3 separate regions of the Homo sapiens genome follow, and all the other regions are linked to region 3. Evidence: promoter capture Hi-C in 16 types of primary human blood cells and fetal thymus (Javierre and others, 2016). All regions are on one chromosome and are shown on one strand. The core of a region is centred on a gene start or on the middle of the fragment in contact, and the rest is flanking DNA. Distances in the headings are between cores, read along the strand shown. Region 1 overlaps ADGRG7 (adhesion G protein-coupled receptor G7). Region 2 overlaps TFG (trafficking from ER to golgi regulator). Region 3 holds the start of TRMT10C (tRNA methyltransferase 10C, mitochondrial RNase P subunit).

Region 1 (3,402 bases), core at 833-3,332, 910 kb after region 3:
TAAAATGTAATTTATATTTAAAAGTCACTTATACATTTTAAAATAAGGCCAAATACAATTTTTTAATAATTTCCCATAACAGTGTAACAGCTTTAAAACAAAATTAGGTAATATTCAGCTTACTTTACGTTTAAAGAATGAAGCTTACATGAAGATTTAAATTAGGTAAAAATATTTTTAATTTGTTTCATGGCCTATTGTTACTGATGCTATTCTTTATAATTTAAGTAGACTAATGATTACTGCTTTTTTAAATGGTTTATACATAACAATATTTCACATATCTTTTCTGCAAGACTTTTCAGAACCTTATTTTCATCAAGAATCTCCCTTGGACTAATGTTTCAAGGACCACATTTTGGGAAATGCTTGCTGATTGTCAGATGGTCAAGATGTCCTGAACCACATTTTGAATGTAAATCATTCCGAAGGACTATCCCTTTATTGGAAGATATAATTTCTGGGTGTACAACCAAGTGCTCTTTAAAATTGCCTTTTTTTCCCTTCTCATGCTTACCTAATGTCTTTGCTCTAAAAGAGCAGCTGTTTCTCTTATTTTGTCTGCAGGCCGGCCTTGTTTACCAGCAATTTTCAGAAGGCAGTATGAGTGAATGTGTATGAGTGTGTGTGTGTGTATGTGTGTATATGGTGTGGTGTGTGTGTATGTATGGTGTGGTGTGTGTAGTTCATGTATATATTCTGTGCTAGCCCACATGTATATCTTCAGATTGGCAGAGAATGCAAGATTTCTCTTAATAAAGTTGATTTCAGAAGTAAAATGTGATATTCTTTTTTGTACATGTATTATTTTCCTTATTGCTTAAAGGCAGATATATCCTTATATCCCCTTAAAGGCATGTTACACTTTCATGTACACTATGGCAGACAGTTCCTCGCCAATAAAAGTTATAAAATCTCTACTCACTACCATCTAAAGCCTTCTGGATTTTTCAGACTGCAAGACCTCTTGGAATACCATTTCCCAGGTTTATTACTATGCCTAAAGTTCTAACCTTCAAATGCCTCTCTATTCTTAATAACTCATAATTTGATGAAGTCTATTTGCCCATTATGTATTCTTTATGTTTTTACGATGTTTCATCATGACCTCGCTTGATCTTTGGATTCCCACACTGAACAAAAAAGCTTTCATTCAAACAGAACTCAGTCCATCTGCTTGACATTTTAGTTGAGATTTCTGGACAATTCAAAATTTCATTAAATCTATTGAGAGGTTTAATGACCAGAACTGCAAAAAGTACTCAGAAGAATCTTTTTATATAAAAGTAAGATTAGAGTCTAGTTTTTATCTAATTTTATCAATTATAATCCACAGGAAGAAGAGGTGATTTTCAAATAGCCTGGCCCTTCTTATAGATTATTACTATATAGATGCTCCTCAACTTACAATGAGATTGCATCACAACAAACCCATCGAAAACTAAAAATATCATTTCACCTTACCATATTTTCAATTTACAATGGGTTTATTGGGACATAACCCTATCATAAATCAAGAAACATCCTGAATGCTATCACTTTTGCAACATCTTAAAGCTGAAAAATCGTAAGTTGAACCATGGTCAGTAGGGGACTGTTTGTATTCTGTGCATTATTATTATATGGGAACCTGTCCAAGAACAAAGAAAATTTTATAATTCAGGATTTTAAAATCAATAAAATTTTGTCTTTATTTTTGTTTTGTTTTTTCTCTCTTTAAAAAAAAAAATTTGTTTGAGATGTGATCTTGCTGTATTGCCCAGGCTTGTCTCAAACTCCTGGGCTCAAGCAATCCTCCTGCCTTGGCCTCCCAAAGTGCTGGAATTATAGGTGTGAGCCTCCATGCCTGGTGTTTATTTTTATTTTTGTTTCCTGATGAATTTTAGTGGTATCTTTGGTTGCATAATTGTGCTAGAAAACATATTGATGAAAGAGGAAAAAAATCTGATGACAAATGAAAAGAGTGAGGTTTTGGCAAAGAAACTAGTTATGCAGCAACTATGACTCATCCCTATGGGACCAAATAATTGTCAGTACAACTGTGGTGATGGTAGAAATACAAATAATGAGACAAATTTAAGAGGCATTTAATTTTACATGACAAACATGTAATTTTCCTTCAAGGCACTTACCACAATTTGTAATATTCAGTTGTGTAGATATTTTTATAATGTCTGCCTTTTCCCCCCAACAGTGTATATTTCATGAGAGATGGGAGATTATCTGTCTGTTCATAGTTTTGTATTCAGCTCCTTACAACATAAGCACTCACTATAAAACTTTTAAATGAATGGCAAGAGACTCATTTAATGTGAAAAGGGGAAGAAAAGGAATCGAAAACAATTCTGGCTCTTTGGAGAAATGGCTGGTTCAGGTATGAGGCAGAGAAAGTGAAAGATGATCATTTTGCTTTTGATTGAAATAAGGAAGTGACTAAAGACTGAGACGTGGCAAAACAACATGAAGGGGCTCCCTCTGGCTACACTGGGAAGTATGCTTTTTACAAAAGAGTATAGCAAACAAATATAGAAAGAGTGATAGCCTAGAAAAATCACCATTTTTCAACCACTTAATGTAATAATTTGTTCCAGTAAGGATGAGTAACAAGATCATTAAGTAAAAGATTTTTGGGAAACAGGATATCATGCAGCCTCAAAGTGGCACCCCACGAGTCATCTATTATTTACACAGGGAAAAAATGTGGAAATCTGGCAGACATCACTTTAAACGAGGAATCAAACTTACAGCCAACAATAATGGGACATACTGATACGCACTTCTTGTTGTGTCACACTAAAAAAAATTCCATGATTGCAGTATTCCCACCAAAAATAATTAACCTGCATCTCTTCATGAGGAAAATTTCAGACAAATCTTCATTGTGGAACATTTTTCAAAGTAACTGGCCTGGATGCTTGAAAAATTTCAATGTCATGAAAGACCAAACAAACATGAAATGTGAAGTTGACAGAGGAAACACACAGTAAACGGAGTAAATTAATAAATGAACAAGCTTCTAAAAGACCGCAGGCAGTTAAAAAAATGTAGCATGTGACAAAAAATAATGAATGGGATACAAAATTGGACCTCAAATGAAGGGGTCAAGGTGGAGAGAAGTATTTGTTTATAGGTCATTATTTAAAATTAGAATTTAATGTATGGGATTCAAAAACTTTCACCATTTGAAAACTATATTTTTGAAAAACGTTTCACCATTTGAAAGCTTGATATATTTTTTAAATTACTTTTTTAAAAAATTGCTGTTTGCAATGTCTCTTTCCTTAACAAATACAAATTGCTAGGCATGGTTCTATTCAACACTGAGGAATTATAGCATTAATGAGCTGCAGGACCACATAAATTTTACATGACAAACTTGTAAATAAGTGGCATATAATTTTC
Region 2 (3,548 bases), core at 1,028-3,527, 850 kb after region 3:
AGGCCGAGGCAGGAGAATCACTTGAACCTGGGATGTGGAGGCTGCAGTGAGCCAAGATCACCCCACTGTACTCCAGCCTAAACGACAAAGCAAGACTTTGTCTCAAAAAAAAAAAAAAAAAAAAAAAAAACCATGAAATACAAAGTTGTAACTAAATGTGGAAGACAAACTACAACGAGGACACCTCAAGCTAAGGGTCCATGAACTGTGACCAACGGACAAAATCCCTGTGTTGTTATAGGTCTGTGAATGAAAAATGGTTTTTACATTGTAAAAAAAAGATGAGACAGAGGCCTTATGTGACCCACAAAGCTACAATATTTATTCTCTCTGATCTATTAAAGAAAATGTTTGCTGACCTTTGCCCTAAACAGTAGTTAAGAGAAAGCCAGTCAATGAGGTCAGTTTGAGATAAAGGCAAAGCATCTTCAAGTGGGAAAAAAGGCAGTTAAAGGCCAGGCACACTGGCTCATGCCTGTAATCTCAGTACTTTGGCAGGCCAAGGCAGGAGGATCGCTTGAGCCCAGGAGTTCAGGACCAGCCTGGGCAACACAGTGAGACCCCCATTTTGATAAACATTAAGAATAAGAAGCTGAGTGCAGTGGCACATGCCTGCAGTCCCAGCTACACGGGAGGCTGAGTTGCAAGGACTGCTTGAGCCCAGGAGTTCAAGGCTTCAATGAGCCATGATCACACCACTGCGCTCCAGCTTGGGAGACAGAGCAAGACCCTGTCTCAAGACAAAAAAATAAAAAATAAAAAAAAGACAGTTAAGCAAGTACTAGCCAGAGCAATTATGCAAGAGAAAAAAATAAAAGGTATCCAAATTGGGAAGGAAGCAAACTGTCCCTGTTTGCAGATGACATAATCTTATATAAACAAAAACCTAAAAACTCTACCAAAACCCTTAGAACCAATAAATGAATTCAATAAAGCTGCCAGAAACAAAATAAGTACACAAAAATAAGTAGTGTTTCTATACACATACAATAAAAAATAAAAAATGCAATCCCATTAACCACAGCTACAAAAATTTTTTTAAATATCTAGGAAGCAGTTTAACCAAGAAGATGAAAAACCTCTACAAAAAAAAAAAAAAACACTGATGAAAGAAACCAAAGAGCATACATATGTAATGACATCCCATGCTTATATAAGAACAAATATTGTTAAAATGACAAAATTACTCAAAGCAATTTACAGATTCAATTCAATCCCTATCAAACTACCAATAAAATTATTCATAAAAATTTAAAAACAAACCATAAAATTTGTACAGAACTACATACAACCCCAGACAGTCAAAGCAATACTGAGCAAAGAACAAAGCTGAAGGTGTCACACTTACTGACCTCAAAATATACTACAAAGCTGTAATAAGCATGGACTGGCACAAAAACGGACCCACAGACCAACAGAACTGACATAAAAACAGACCCATTGACCAAGAGAACAAACACATAGATCAATAGAACACATAGAACAAAAGAACATAATCCATGTTATCTATAGCCAACTGACTTTTGACAAGACCACTCATTAGGAAAAGGATAACCTCTTTAATAGGTCGGGAAAAGATTTCATGAATAAGACCTCAAAAGTGCAGTCAATAAAAGCAAAAATAAATATGATTATCTCAAACTGGAAAACTTTTCTGCACAGCAAAGGAAACAATCAAGAGTGAAAAGAGAACTTACAGAATGGGAGGAAATACAACTACTCATCTGGCAGAGGATGAATATTCAGAATATAGAAGGAACTCAAACATCTCAACAGCTAAAAAACAATCAATCCGATTTTAAAATCGGCAAATGATCTGAACAGACATTTCTCAAAAAAAGACATAGAAATGGTCAATAAATATATGAAAAAATGCTCAAAATCACAAATCATCAGGGAAATGCACACATATCAGGAAAATGAAGACCACAACAAGGTTCACCCCAGTTAGGATGGTTATTATCAAAAAGATAAATAACAAATGCTGGCAAGAATGAAGAGAAAAGGGAACTCTTACACATTATTGGTAGGAATGTCAACAGTACAGCCACTAGGGAGAACAGTATGAAGGTTCCTCAAAAAACTATAAATCGAACTAACACACAATTCAGCGATGCCACTACTGAATATTTAACTAAAGGAAAGGAAACCAGTATATTGAAGAGAAATCTGCACTCACATTTTACTGCAGCACTATTCACAATAGTCAAGATATGGAATCAACCTAAGTGTCTAACAACAGATTAACTGATAAAGAAAATATGGTATATATACACAATGGAATACAATTCAGCCATAAAAAAGAATGAAGTCCTGTCATTCACAGCAACATGGATGGAACTGGAAGACATTAAGTTAAAAAGATACCACATGCTCTCTCTCATATGTGGAAGCTAAAAAAAGTTGATCTTATACAAGTAAAAAGCAGAACAGATGACAGTAGAGGCTGCAAAGGGTAGGGGAAAAGAGGGATAGGGAGAGATTTATTAAAAGACACAAAAGTACAACTAGATAGAAGTAGTTCCAGTGTTCTATAGCACTATAGGATGACTACAGTTAACAATAACATATTATATAATTTCAAATAGCTAGAAGGAGAATATTGAATGTTTCTAACCCAAAGAAATAAATATTTGAGGTGATGGATATGCGAATTACCCTGATCTAATCCCATTATATGTAATGAAACATTACTATGTACCCCATAAATATGTACAATTATTATTTGTCAATTAAAACAAAATTTAAAAAAAAAAGTACTCTTGGGACTTTGCTAAAAAAAAAAAAAAGTTAAAAATCTGAATTGTAGGCTGGGCATGGTGGCTTATGCCTTTGGGAGGCCGGGTTGGCAGTATTGCCTGGGGACAGGAGTTAAAGGTTATGATGAGCTATAATCATGCCACTGCACTGTAGCCTGGATGAGAGTGAGACCCTGTCTCAAAAAAAAAAAAAATTCACTGATCAAATTAAGACACACATTTCAAAGTCACAGAGGTGCAAATCAATGTATGATAAGCATAAGAAAACAGGAAAAAAGTACTATCCTTTATTGTTTCTTAACATGGGCAACTCTCAAAAATTTGTTTTGGGTATTCTTAGACTACACATCACAAAAACAAAGGAGAATTATACCTTTAGCTAGATGGTCAATTTAACTGATCACCAGTGATTTACACTTCTCCTCCACAGTATAAGTTGTGCTAAGTGGCTGCTCAGCCAGGGACTATACTTCCCAACCCATTTGCATCTTAGCAAAGCCATGTAACTGGGTACTGACCAATGTCATAAGGGCAGAAATGACATACAACACCATCAGGCCTAGTGAGTAAAATCTCCCATATGATTCTTCATACTCTGTCTTCACTCATCTGCTTGCCAATGTCAATGCCTATGGTGAGCTTATAAGCCATGTGTTGAAGGTAACAGCTTCTTTCAACCTGGATCCCTGAAAGATTTCTCAACTATTAAACCACTCAGATTTTAAGATTTCTATTATATCTGCTGGCATTACTTTAAGCCCAACCCTAACACAGACAGAGAAAAAACTG
Region 3 (3,932 bases), core at 231-2,730:
TGTCTCTACTAAAAATACAAAAATTAGCCAGGTGTGGTGGCGCATGCCTGTAATCCCAGGTACTCGTGAGGCTGAAGTGGGGCGATTCTTCTACTTCCCAGGTACTCGTGAGGCTGATGTAGAAGAATCGCTTGAATAAGGGGGGCGGAAGTTGCAGTGAGCCGAGATTTTGCAACAAAATCTGTTGCAGTGAGCGACAGAGTAAGACTGTCTCAAAACAACAAAAACAAACAAAAAACACCTCAAACGCAACAAATCGAAATAACCCCTCTACCTTTGCTTCACAATCTGATCCTCCTTCAATGTTCTGTTTCAAGGGATATTGCTATCCATTGGTATTGTTCCCAACATATATTTCTAAGCTTATTGCGGCCAGGTCAGCAGCATCTCTAGCTATTCTTCACCTCACACTTCAAGTATTCCACCATTACTTTTCACAGCACTCTGGTGCCTATGACAGTACTTCTAACACTGCACTGTAATTGCCTGGTTATCTATTTGCCTCACTAGATGGTAAGGACTAACTAGTGTCCATGAGGACAAGGACTTTGTCTATAATGTTAACATTGAATCCAATGCTTGACAGTATTTGGCTCACAGTAATCACGCAAATATTTTTCTAATACCCTAGATCGATGCTTCCTTCATTAAAAAAAAAAAAAAGAAAAAAAAAGTTCAGCCTCCCTTTATTATTTTTTTTGAGACGGAGTCTCGCTCTGTCACTCCAGGCTGGAGTATAGTGGCGCGATCTCGGCGCAAGCTCCGCCTCCCAGGGTTCACGCCATTCTCCTGCCTCAGCCTCCCGAGTAGCTGGGACTACAGGCACCCGCCACCACGCCCGGCTATTTTGTATTTTTAGTACAGACGGGGTTTCACTGTGTTAGCCAGGATGGTCTCGGATCTCCTGACCTCGTGATCCGCCCACCTCGGCCTCTCATTGTGCTGGGATTACAGGCGTGAGCCACCGCGCCCGGCTCAGCCTCCCTTTAAAGAGAAAACAATTTACTTTAGAATCCCGGAAATATTTAACTGGGGTCCCCAGGCCCCAATCTAATAAACATTGATTTCAGAAGGAGTTTTAAAAGTTTTATTCTTGTAACTGGCAAGGACTTAGAATACCACAGAAATGAAAACCCCAATTGTAAAAAGCAATCAAGTACATCATTTCAGGAACCACTGATTTTGTTTCAGGTACTGTACTAGTTATAGTTTATTAAAATCACTGGGCTTCCTCTTACCCGTGGGCCTTCCGAACGCACATGCTCCACTAAGTGCATCTTGGAACGTCTCCGGCGTCCTCCCACCCCCAACACACACATTAGGCGAAAGAAGAAACTCGCTTACCAGGAGTGCAGAGATAGTGGTTCCCGCTGGCGCAAAGAACAGGGACCCTGGAGGACGAAGGACTCCGACGTACGGACGCCCAGGGATCCGCGCCGAAGCTAGCACGCAGCCTACCCAACAGTCTACACAGCCGACCAGAGCGGTCGCTGGGGCTCAGCCGGAAGTTCCGCCCTCTCCCTTCCGGCGCTGCTTTTTACGTCACAGCACGCAAAGAACGCTTTCTTGGCTAAAAGAAGCGCCTTAGAGGAGACGGCTGTCAGTAGGCAACTGGGTACTCGAAGACTACGCTCTCAGTTGTCACGGAGTTGTAGCTGTGTTGTGTTGTGTTTTCCTCCATATATCCTAAAAACTTCTTCTGGGCCGGGCCAGTTGGCTTACGCCTGTTATCCCAGTGCTTTGGGCGGCCGAGGCGGGCGGATCACTTGGGGTCAGGAGTTTGAGACCAGCCTGGCCAACATAGTGAAACCCCGTCTCTACTAAAAATACAAAAATTAGCCAGGTGTGGTGGCGCGCGCCTGTAATCCCAGTTGCTCGGGAGGCTGAGGCAGGAGAATCGCTTGAACCTGGGAGGCGGAGGTTGCGGTGAGCTGAGATCGCGCCACTGCACTCCAGCCTGGGCGACAGAGCAAGACTCTCTGTCTCAAAAAAAAAAAAAAAAAAAAAAAAAAACTGTTTCTAATCCTCTTTTCAACCTACTCTCTGTTTGGGCCCTGTATTTATAAACATTTGCTGACAGAGTACTAAAATAAAGTATGTTTTTTTCACACGTCTTCTTACTCAGCTTCAAACTCCTTGACGCTAGGACTTTAAACTCCTAATCTTTTTGACCAGTTTATCACCAGTACCTGGCACTATGCTTGGAACGTGATAAGCCACGGTAAGTTTCTGTCTCCTCCTAGCTCATTTGGAAAGTTTAATGTGAAATGAAATTAAAACACATTTGTAAATTGGTGGCCTTTGGGGCCAATTCAGCCTCCACATATATTTGTAACCAAACACAGAATGAACATATTCTGCAGCCATTCTACTCCTAGTAATATACCCAAAGAAATTGAAAGCAGAGACACAAACAGACACTTGTACTCTAATGTCATTGTAGCATTATTGATAATAACCAAAAGGTGGAAGCAACCCAAATATCCATGAACAGATGAATAGATTAAAAAATGTTGCATGTACATACAATGGAATATTATTCAGTCTTAAAAAGGAATGAAGTTCTGATACATGGTACAACATGGATAAACTTTGGAGGCATTATACACTGAGATAAGCCAGGCACAAAAGGACAAATATTGTATAAGTCCACCTATATGAAGTGCCTAGAATAGTCAAATCATAAAGAAAGAAAGTAGAATAGTGTTTACCAGGGGCTGGGGAAAGGGAAGAATGGGCAGTTACTGTTTAATAGGTATGAATTTTCAGTATGGGATGATGAAAAAGTTCTGGAGATGGATAGTAGTGATGGTTGTACAAGAACGTGAATGTACTTAATGCCATTGAACTGTACACTTGAAAATGACTAAAATGGAAATGTTTATATTGTATATAGTTTACTAAAATAAAAGAAGGTAGGCATAGTCTTTTCCAAATGATTTTAAAAAACGAGATCTTGTCTAAGAGACTGATTACTATCATGTTAGAAAGGTGAGGTGGTGATAGCAAAATAATCATGAGTTTACTCCCAAACATGGAAAAAAATCAAGAATAAATATCGTCTAGTAGTTATAACAAATAGCAGTGTAGAGGTTATTTTTTCTTGTTCCTGTTCTTTAAAGAGATACATCTGAAGTTTTTCCATTAATATTTTATGAAGGTTTTTGCTATATGATCTTTGTCAAGTAAAGGAAATTTCATTCTGTTAAGTTTACTAAGATTCTTTATGTGAAAAATCTTTGGAAGTGTTTCTATAAATATAGCAGAACATAATTTATTCAATATGTCTGGGATCTGACCTATTCTAGATTAAGAATATTTCCAGGTTTCAGACATCTTACCTCCAACAAAAAGCACAGTGATTTTCAAAATACGTTTTTTTGTTTTTTTTTTTTGAGACGGAGTCTCGCTCTTTCACCCAGGCCAGAGTGCAGTGGCGCGATCTCGGCTCATTGCAAGCTCCGCCTCCCGGGTTTACGCCATTCTCCTGCCTCAGCCCCCGAGTGGCTGGGACTACAGGCGCCCGCCACCGCGCCCGGCTAATTTTTTGTATTTTTAGTAGAGACAGGGTTTCACCGTGTTAGCCAGGATGGTCTCGATCTCCTGACCTCGTGATCCGCCCGCCTCGGACTCCCACAGTGCTGGGATTACAGGCGTGAGCCACCGCGCCCGGCCTCAAAATACATGTTTTGGCATAGAAAAATAGCTTGTAATATGGGATGTAAGGTATCAAAAAAATAAAAAATAAATTGTAGGCCAGGAGCAGTGGCTCATGCCTATAATCAGCATTTTGGGAGGCCAAGGCAGGCAGATTGCTTGGGCTCAAGAGTTCCAGACCAGCCTGGCCAACGTGGTGAAACCCTCTCTCTACAAAAAATACACAAAAAAAGAAAAGAAAAAGAAATAAATTTTAAAAGCAAGGAAATATATAA

What was found. Contacts are between HindIII fragments. The CHiCAGO score rates a contact against its expected background, and 5 or more counts as called.
Region 1: a contact is called between a fragment that was not itself captured here and the fragment with the promoter of TRMT10C in region 3, in 1 of 17 cell types (total B cells). The highest score is 6.4, in total B cells.
Region 2: a contact is called between a fragment that was not itself captured here and the fragment with the promoter of TRMT10C in region 3, in 3 of 17 cell types (neutrophils, monocytes and total CD4 T cells). The highest score is 7.4, in neutrophils.

The regions. Positions count from the first base shown.
Region 1 is chr3:100,650,012-100,653,413 of GRCh38, reverse strand. The region is part of intron 11 of ADGRG7 (adhesion G protein-coupled receptor G7); the gene reads right to left. Among named protein-coding and RNA genes, the nearest start is that of ADGRG7, 42 kb to the right of the region's middle. RefSeq lists an enhancer at 2,379-2,428. The HindIII fragment of the contact is 1,867 bases long and covers 1,149-3,015 here.
Region 2 is chr3:100,715,132-100,718,679 of GRCh38, reverse strand. All of the region lies in intron 2 of TFG (trafficking from ER to golgi regulator), which reads right to left. Among named protein-coding and RNA genes, the nearest start is that of TFG, 7.4 kb to the right of the region's middle. The HindIII fragment of the contact is 5,880 bases long and covers 1-3,548 here.
Region 3 is chr3:101,559,416-101,563,347 of GRCh38, reverse strand. TRMT10C (tRNA methyltransferase 10C, mitochondrial RNase P subunit) reads right to left here and starts at 1,480. Exons shown (of 2, transcript NM_017819.4): 1 at 1,345-1,480. RefSeq lists enhancers at 1,345-1,414, 1,425-1,494. The HindIII fragment of the contact is 12,384 bases long and covers 365-3,932 here.